Regions from separate parts of the Homo sapiens genome. Here region 2 is linked to region 1. Evidence: promoter capture Hi-C in human tissues and cell types (Jung and others, 2019). All regions are on one chromosome and are shown on one strand. Each heading gives the region's core, a stretch centred on a gene start or on the middle of the fragment in contact. The rest is flanking DNA. Distances are from core to core; before and after follow the strand shown.

Region 1 (4,562 bases), core at 1,455-3,954:
CAACCAATTCAGATAGGTTACTGATTTTTAAGAGTAAATATATGGCAATAACTTAAAGCGGACATTTGCATCTGCCTTTTTATTGAAGAAGGAGAAATAAATTATAATGTTACAGGAAGTGTAGCTAGGTAGTTAGATAATAAAATTTTCTTAACTCCTTAAGCTTGGTGCAATCACCTTCAAGTAAGATATCTCAATCCAATTCTCAGATGTAATTAATAATAAAATCTCTACAATAAGCTAATCCATTGAACATTTGTGATATTATTATGTGGGGAGGAGGTAGGAGGAAGGGGATTGAGTATAACACTGATTCTTCCATTGTTTAAAATATTCTTTGTTTTCCAGAGGACACCAAAGGATAGTTGTACAGGAGCAAGAGTAAATCAGCCCCAGGGAGCACTGTCTCTGTGAGATCCCAGCCTGGAGCTGAAGTAGAGAAGAGTTTCAAGTTGCTGAACACCCCCATGCAGCAGTAAAAAGATATAAGATATCGACACGCTCAGCTGCATCTTGTTAAAAGCTTCCTGCGGGTTGGCAGAATGAAATCTTTACTTAAAACACACAAACTATTGTCAAGGGAAAGATGGAAAAGAGAATACAGTAAAAGGGCCAAATGCTTTGCTTAACCCACCAGAAGCAGTAGAAAGGGAGAGGTGGTCACGTTGTCTTTGCAACAACAACAACAGAAAAGGTGACTAACACAACCACATCAGCCTCCATCTGCTCTTCCCATGGTTTCAAGATGCATTATTTCTTTTATTATTAATTACTTGTGTTTCTGAGGGAGGACAAATATATTATTGTGACTAGCAAGAGAGGAAATCATTTCTGCTTCTACTTGGCATTAAGTACAGTAGTGTATGTAATGACTGAGGGATGGCAGGAAACAGAGCGGCATCATTGAGACCAGCCTCCCTCCTACCAATCCACTCCAACTCGCCCTTGGTAGTCAGAGGCTGCCTAACAGAAAGTTCATGTAAAACCATTATTGAACACTGACAGGAAGGAACTGAGACAGGAGTGAGTGGTGTGTATTTGTGCAGAAAGGGAGAAGGAGGGAGGGAGAGAGAGAGAATATGAGTCAGTCATCATCATCTTGGGGAGACAGCACCGTAAGAGGGGCAAGTGCTTTGTATAATTACAAAAATATGTACACATGCACACACACTTGCACATATGGTGTAATTTTTTTTCGTTCATATCTTGTCATTTCCAAGAACCTTTTTAAGTGATGATGACTGTTTGTGCATGGGAACCTTCTTGGATGGGTAGGCTCCGTGGCTTTAGGGAGGCTGAGCAGGGAACCCGGCAGCGCGTGGGTTCAGGAGAAGGGTCCCTTTTAAAGAGCAAAGGGACACAGCAAGCAGTGGAGAAGGTATGAAAAGAAAAAGGTGAAGGGACCCTGGGGAAAATTCCACCTATAGTGACTAAGCTTTATTTCTCTTCGGGAGAAAGTGACATTTCTGCGATTAGATCATTGACATATAAGGAAAGTAGATGGATAACTGGTTTTTCGTTGTTCTTTTTTTATTTGTTTTCTTCTACAGTGCTTACAGAACCTTTGACCAGATGGTACCTGGAATGCTCTGTGTTGCATATTACAAACAGGATAATTATTTTGGCTTTTTAGAAAACGCACCGACATGGTGACATTGCTCTCTGTTTATCAAGAGACAGAGCATTTGTTGCCTATAGCTGTATGCTCTGATGAGACATGAAAGATAGTAAAATGACAAAAAGCTTCCTGCTGTTTTTCTCTCATCCTGCCCCTTCTTCTCCCCCCAGCTCCAAACCTTATTTCTAGTTTCGCTGGGGGTCTAAGTTCCTCCTCCCCTGTCTCCCGAGTCTGTGGTACACCACATCTGATGCACTCCGATACCCCACTCTACCTTGGGGTAAGGAGGAGGTGGGGAAGAATCCGCTCCCTGCATCCATGTCCTCTCCTCTGCAGCGAGGCATATTCTCAGCAACTCTTGTACAGGTTTTCCCTTCTCAGCTACCACCTTGGCAGAGCTCTATCCCTCCCTCAAGCCCAGCCAGACTGCCAAGCGCCCCGACTGAAAACTCCATCCAGCTCAGCCGAAGTACACCCCCTCCGCCAAGCAACCCCTGTGCCCCTGCCCTTCACCTCCCTAAGTCTGCTCTTCATAAGCATCGATTCCATTGCAAATCAAATGTACGTCCCCCAGCTATTAACACCCACTACCCCTTAGGTGTTACCGACAGCCTCCCTCGGAAAATAATAATAATAATAATAACCGAAAGCACGCGAACACCTGAAGAAGCACAGATCGGGATCCGCATCTGGACCAGTCCTCTGTGGCTATAGTGATGGGGAATAGCCTGTGCCTGACATATCCTCCTGTTCCCGCGCGAACCGCTTTACCCTGGATCCCTGGAATCGTGCCTAGGCACCCGGGCGGCGGGGTCCGCCCAGGCCGCGTCAGGCAGCTCTGGGCCGGTGGGTGCCGGGTCTCCCCTCCTCCCGCCCCATCTGGCGCGCCCGCAGCGCCGCCGCCGCCGCCGCTTCTCTCCCCAGCGGGCGCTCGGAGCATCCCGCGCCGCGTTCTCCCCGCCCCGGCCCCCGCCCGCCGGAGCGGGGCCCACGCCGCTGGCAGCCATCAAGTGGCTCGTTAAGGAAATGCAGGTGAGTGCGTGAGGCCGAGCGGCAGCTGCTGGAGACGTGGGGTGTGTGCCTGTGAGTGCGAGCGAGACGAGGAGGGAGCGCCAGCGAGCGAGCGAGCGAGTGCGGGAGCGGCCGCCTCGGCTCCCCGCCCAGCCGCGCCCGCAGCCGGCGGCCGGAGCGCGTGGGGGCAGCGCCTCGCCCCGACAGAGCCTCGCCTCCTCCTTGCCGTCTCGGCTGCTTCTCCGAGGAGCCGGGAGCCGCTCATCGGCCTCCCCAACCCTGCGCTCCCCTCCCAGCCCGAGTCCTCCCGCTGCTCTTTCTCCTCCTCCTCCCGAGCCTCCTCCCCTCCGGCGCGGCGCCGCCAGCCAGCCTCGGCGGGGAGAGTGCAGGTACTTTGCCTTCAGAATAATTAGCAGGACCCAAGCCGGCTTTCCGAGCGCGCTTTCTTTTTCTTCCTTTGCCCCCTCCCTCCGGAAAAGAAGATCCCACTTTTGAAACAATCAGAAATCGAAGCACCCCACCAAAGCCAAACCCTGACGGGCTGCTGTGCATGTGCCATCCCTTTTTGCAGTTTATTCTGGGCCTGTGTGGAATAGAAAGACAATTCTTTATTTGACTGGTAGGAAAGAAAAGAGAAGACTCCTCAGGGTTTCCAAGGAGGACTGGAGCGGCTGCTTTAGTAAGTAAACTGTGCTTCTGTCTTTCTTTTCTCTAAAGTGAAGCATATGCTGATGCTTTTCAATGCCCAATGTCCAATGCTGTGGACAGTTTATTCATTTTACCTGGGAATAACTTGACTTATATAACTTCAGTAGCTCCTATTTGAGAAGTGGTTCGCTAAGCATTTTTTTCTTTTTTTTTTTTTTTTGGAAGAGCCCTTAGAAGACTTCGATATGGGATCAGTATGGGCAGCCTTACTGGAAAACTGATTTTTAAACGTTTATTGTTCAAGGGCTATTGGAAGCCTGCTTTGTTAAACATTGGTTGGTTCTAAGATTTAAGGGTGGTTATCTAGAAAAAGCTTGAAAAATCTAACCCTACTGGCTCACTTCTCCTGCCACCTTCAACCTCAGCCCTAATCCATGCTAACTCCCACCCTACTCTGACTTCAGTTGGTTGGTTGTTTTATCTTTAGTTCTGAAAAGCTCTAGAAAAAAAAAGGGGGGGGGGGCGGAAAAGGGAAAGTTAATAAGGATGGTTTGAAAGACCAGATGAAAATTCTGTTGCGATTTCTTCATGCCTGTAAGGAGATAATAATTGGAGGAAAATCCTGGAACTAGAATAGTTGGAGAATTAGAATGAACTTAATTTGGAGAGAGAATGTGAAAAATACTTTGGAGAGGGCAGGGCTGAGACTGTGACTTTGACACAGCGGGTTATAAACTCTGACAGGGCTCAGCAGCCAGTGACAGGTTTAAGGTGTCTCCTAAGGCTGAATATCTCTGCATCAAAAACTTTTGCAGGCAGTATTCCTCTTGGGGCTAACATCACCATGTCAGTAGCTGTAGCATTTCTTTTTACAGAAGTAGGACACTCTTCTTTCTACAAAAGGGTTAATAAGTTCATTATACATATATATAAAAAACATGTAGTCTAACATTTGCCAATATTTTGTAATATCTAAATAAAACCTTTGTGTTATGTCAGGAAAAATATAGTTGACTCAGTTTGTTTTGCACAAGAGGGAGAGAATCAATAACATTTCAGCATTTTTTTCTTTATCACTGCCAAATGGATTCTGAATCTAATTCTTCTTGCATTGTTACATATACAGTAGATACAGTAGGAGTTGCAACTTAGACAAAACAGACCTGATTTTTAACAAATCCTAAGTTTTTTGACATGGTAGTACTTATACTGACTAGAGTCTAATAGTGATTAGAAAAAGTTTATCCCTTTTATCTTTAACTGTTAATTTCTTTCTCAGTATAAT
Region 2 (4,562 bases), core at 1,180-3,679, 60 kb after region 1:
ATCTTTTACAAAGACTCTAGCTGGACCAGTCAAATAAATTATAACAATTTCATAATTTAGAGCAATGGAAATGGGTGGCAATTTAATCACTACTCTAACACATTCTTATCTAAATGGTAGACATCATGATCTTTAGAAATGTATAGCCTGGAGCGGTGGCTCACGCCTGTAATCCCAGCACTTTGGGAGGCCCAGGTGGGCGGATCACGAGGTCAGGAGATCGAGACCATCCTGGCTAACACAGTGAAACCCCCTGTCTACTAAAAATACAAAAAATTAGCCGGGCGTGGTGGCGGGCGCCTGTAGTCCCAGCTACTCGGGAGGCTGAGGCAGGAGAATGGCGTGAAGCCGGGAGGCGGAGCTTGCAGGGAGCCAAGATGGTGCCACTGCAGTCCAGTCTGAGCGACAAAGCGAGACTCCATCTTGAAAAAAACAAAAACAAAAAAAATTAAAAAAAGAAATGTATAAACCTGTTAATCATCTTTAGGGATGTATAAAAATGTTAATAGCAAAGGTCAAATAATATATTATCCTGGAAATTGGAATTCTCAAATACCTGATGCTGTTATGAAACTAGAGGGTTAAAGAAAAAACTGTGGATAATATTCAATGATCAGAAAAATTGAGCTGGAATATTTAAATTAATAAGGGAAGAGAGTAATTACTCTGAAAGTTTCTAAGTATGTTTTAAAGCCACACAGATATGAAAAAGTATGGAGCTAAGAAGATTGCACCTGGAAATGGTCCTGGAAATTATTTATAGTTTGCTGCTTCTATTTTGTTCAGGTGAACAAGCTAAAGGTCCATGAGATTATTGAATGACTTCACCAGAGAAGTAAAATCCATTGGGGAAAAAGTAACATCCTGAAAAAGAGCCAATTTAAGTGAGGAAACATATTTCCATTTAAGGGCAAGGAACAGTAGAGTTTAACGGCATGCAGAAAGGGTTGAGTTATACACTAAAAGGTCTCATCATTAAAAGCTCTTAATCCAGTAGATTTGGGATGGACATTTGCATGGGATTAAGAGATTAAGAAATGTAACTTTGTGATGTTCTTGTATGGAAATCAGGTCAAACATGTTTCCCACACTACTTATCCAAGAAAATATAATAAAGGGGATATTAAAGAACAATATTGGTAGAAAAAATTAAAAACAGCAGTCTCCCAGAAACTGAGTTTACCAAAATGTAAATTTTTAGCATACTTTAACTCAGTAATTTAAACTGTATAAATCTAACAGATATAGCTGTACAAGTGAGTAAAAACATATATTAATTACATTCATTGACTAATTTGTGTAACTGGAAGATTTTAAAACACTATAAACATTATTAATAAGAAAACTAGCTGCATAGTTCTTTCTCCTTCTCTCTCTCTTTGAATATATGTGTGTATACATATATATTCACAGTTCTTAAAATGAATTGGATTTGTTTGATTTATACATGCCACTTTAGAAAGAGTCCTAAAATATATTGACAAGTAAATAAAGCCAGATGAAACTCAGTTGCATATGAAATGATTTTGTGTTATAAAAAGAAAGTACACAGGTGAATGTCTATCCTTGGAGAGAATATGTACATACTTGCATATTTTGGAAAAATCTCTGGAGGTATACATAACAAACAAGTTATAGCTGTTTCTTTTTGGAATACAACTCAGGGATGAGAATTTTAATTATTTTTTGTGAACTATTTTATGTGTAGGATTTTTTTCCTGTATAACCATTACATCTTTAAGTAAAAAAAAAAAAAATAAAGATTGTTAACATATGAGTCTATGACTTGACCCATCTCAAGCATAATCACAAAAGTTTCAGCCTTCTAGGTGTTTTTCATTTTCTGCTAGGATCTAAGATATGCTCATAAATGATCTTCCACATGCAATTATTACTTTGCTTTCTGCCTGGGTGGGGACTGTGCTGTATCCTACTACATTCTCTCCTCCTTAGGCTGGATGGACAGGAATATAACAAATCCAGATGTGCTTCTGTGATTCTCAGCATGGAGATGTTGCTAGTGATCACTATGATGGGCTCAGGGAATGGTCAACTGGAGGCACAGACTGCCTCAGCTGAATTCTTGTGTCCCACTTTGAACTGTAAATAAATCTACCCTAGGACAAATAGTCATCATAAACTCCATCATCAAGACTACTATATCAAGCAACGTGAATCTCCAGAAACTGGATTGTATCTATTGGGAGAGTCATGGGACCCAATTTAGGACAAGAATAGGTTTCCTTTTTTCCATACAGAGAAGATAGGAATGCCTCAACCTGTGCTGTTGCCATGTGAAGATCCTGTTGCTTATCCAATGTGAGTTTTTTTTTTCTTTCCATGGGAGAGCAGAATGGCCACTTCTTTCTCTTTTCTCTAGAAGACTGAAAGGAAATAGAAATCTCCTGCCATAAATCTGCAGTGCTCCTCTTGCATTCAGATATGTTATTTTTTGACAACAGAATGGAAGTTGGAGAGAGGAAAGAGCAATTGGTTGATCTAGCGTCCACAGTGGTAGGGATATAAATGTGATGCATTATGGGATTCTAAGATGGCTGGAGATAGGAGGAAAAACTGAAAAACTTAACAAAAGGGTCAAGACACTGTTACACATGATCATGTAGAAAAAAAAGACAGAAGAATGAGAAGAGTGTGAAATAATAAGTTTGGGTCAAGAGCATGATGGAGTTTAAGGTTTCAGCACTCAAGAAATTCTCTGTGATTGCAAAATTAAGAGTTTGGGGAGCAATAGGTATCCAAAAGCATGGTGTGATAGCTCATTCATATTTAGAGAATTTAGAAACTTTTGGACTGGAATGATGATACCTTAAATTCTTAATACAGATAAAAAAGCTTGGTTTTCTGTTCTATTAGTGTCGAATGGCCTGCACACACTAACTTGGAGTTACAAAAAAATGATACCACCACCTCAAAACTCCATTAACAGTGTGAATAGGAGGATGAACCTCTTGAAATGACTGCAAAATTGTACTAATAAAAAGAGACAATCATTCATTTGAGCCAAGTGATATAACATGAATCCTTTGAAAATTTGTGGGAGAGATGTTTGCTTGAAGACTCCAAAGCACCTCCATAGAGAAGTGATTTGGCATTAGGTGTTGAAAACATGCATGCAAAGTAGAAAATTCGACTGAGTGGATGAATGTGCAGAAAGGGAGTACTTGAAGTAGTAACCAAACATGGTAGAAATGAAAGACAGCATGTTTCAAGTCTCAGGATTCTGAATAATGTAAAGTCATTTTTCACTAGTTTTTTTTCTGGGCATATGCTGGTACTTTCTCAGCTTGGATCCTGCCAAAGCCCAACATGAATGGTCTGGAAGCAATAGTGGGAAGCAAGTTGTCTTAGTTCATTCAAGGTACTGTAGCAAAATGCCATAGACTGGGTAACTTGTAAACAACAGAAGTTTATTTCTTATAATTCTATAATAGAGCCAGGAAATTTCAAAATCAAGGTACTGGCAGATTCCATGTCTGGTTTATAGATATAGACTTAATGCATGTGGAGAGGGCAAGGCAGCTCTTTAGGGCCTGTTTTACAAAGGCACAATTCCCATTCATGAGGCCTTCTTCTTCAGGACCTTCATAATCACCTCTTAAAAGTCTCTACTCCCTAATACTGTCACCTTCAGGGTCACGATTTCAACATATATATTTTTGAGGAACATAGACATTCAAACCATAGCACAAGGAACATGAATCACGGTGGTAAATATGTAATTTTTATTTTTATTTTTTATTTTTGGTGACAAGGTCTCCCTGTGTAGTCCAAACTGGAGTGCAGTGGCATAATCATAGCTCACTGTAACCTGGAACCTCTGGACATGAGGGATCCTCCTGCCTCAGCCTTCCAAGTAGCTGGGACTACAAGTGTGTGACATGATACATGGCTACTTTTTTTAAGGTTTCTTTGCAGAGTTGGGGGTGTCACTCTGTTGCCCAGGCTGGTCTTGGACTTCTGGCCTCAAGTGATGCTCCCACTTTGGCTTTTCAAAGGACTGCGATTACAGGCATGAGCCACTGCACTCAGCCTAATATGTAATTTTAATGACAGAGTTGTGTCAAAGTCTCCATGCTATTAAGGGAGACCTGGTTTTGGTTATGAAGGGCAAGTTTAGAAATGTGTGTACAGTGTACAGCCATAGGAGAATGAAAGTTAATACCGAAGTGAATAAGGCCATGGGAACCATGCCAATATATGTAATGATGTGTGGAATAACATTTAGAAAGAGAGGTAGAGGTGGAGAAAAAGCTTATATCTGGCCACTGGTGGCACCTTTCTTTTGCCCAACCAATTTCAGAAGAGCTGAAGCTGAGATAGATAGTTCTTTGCATCTTTCCAGCATCCCACCTGAAGCACATATCATGGGGTATTTCTGCTTTTTTGCCTTAGGCTTTCTCTAAAACACACTCTCTCAGCTCCAAAGTGTATGTGCCTTTGGGTTTGTGTGCACCCAAGGACCATTTTCAACCAATGGGTGAAATGAGTCTAATTTTACCAGCCTTCCTGTCTTTCAGTGTGGTAATTCTGAGGTAGGTTCT

The links. The method cuts DNA at HindIII sites, captures the fragments that hold promoters and counts their contacts. A contact is called where the count stands out against the background at its distance.
Region 2: a contact is called between a fragment that was not itself captured here and the fragment with the promoter of PTPRD in region 1, in 2 of the 25 tissues and cell types used here (pancreas and small bowel).

The regions. Positions count from the first base shown.
Region 1 is chr9:10,611,144-10,615,705 of GRCh38, reverse strand. It overlaps PTPRD (protein tyrosine phosphatase receptor type D), which reads left to right and starts at 2,704. Exons shown (of 46, transcript NM_002839.4): 1 at 2,704-3,018; 2 at 3,201-3,308. PTPRD-DT (PTPRD divergent transcript) reads right to left here and starts at 2,500. Exons shown (of 3, transcript NR_110696.1): 1 at 2,280-2,500. RefSeq lists a silencer at 2,550-2,759. The HindIII fragment of the contact is 2,966 bases long and covers 1,590-4,555 here.
Region 2 is chr9:10,550,542-10,555,103 of GRCh38, reverse strand. All of the region lies in intron 2 of PTPRD (protein tyrosine phosphatase receptor type D), which reads left to right. Among named protein-coding and RNA genes, the nearest start is that of PTPRD, 60 kb to the left of the region's middle. The HindIII fragment of the contact is 6,408 bases long and covers 1-4,562 here.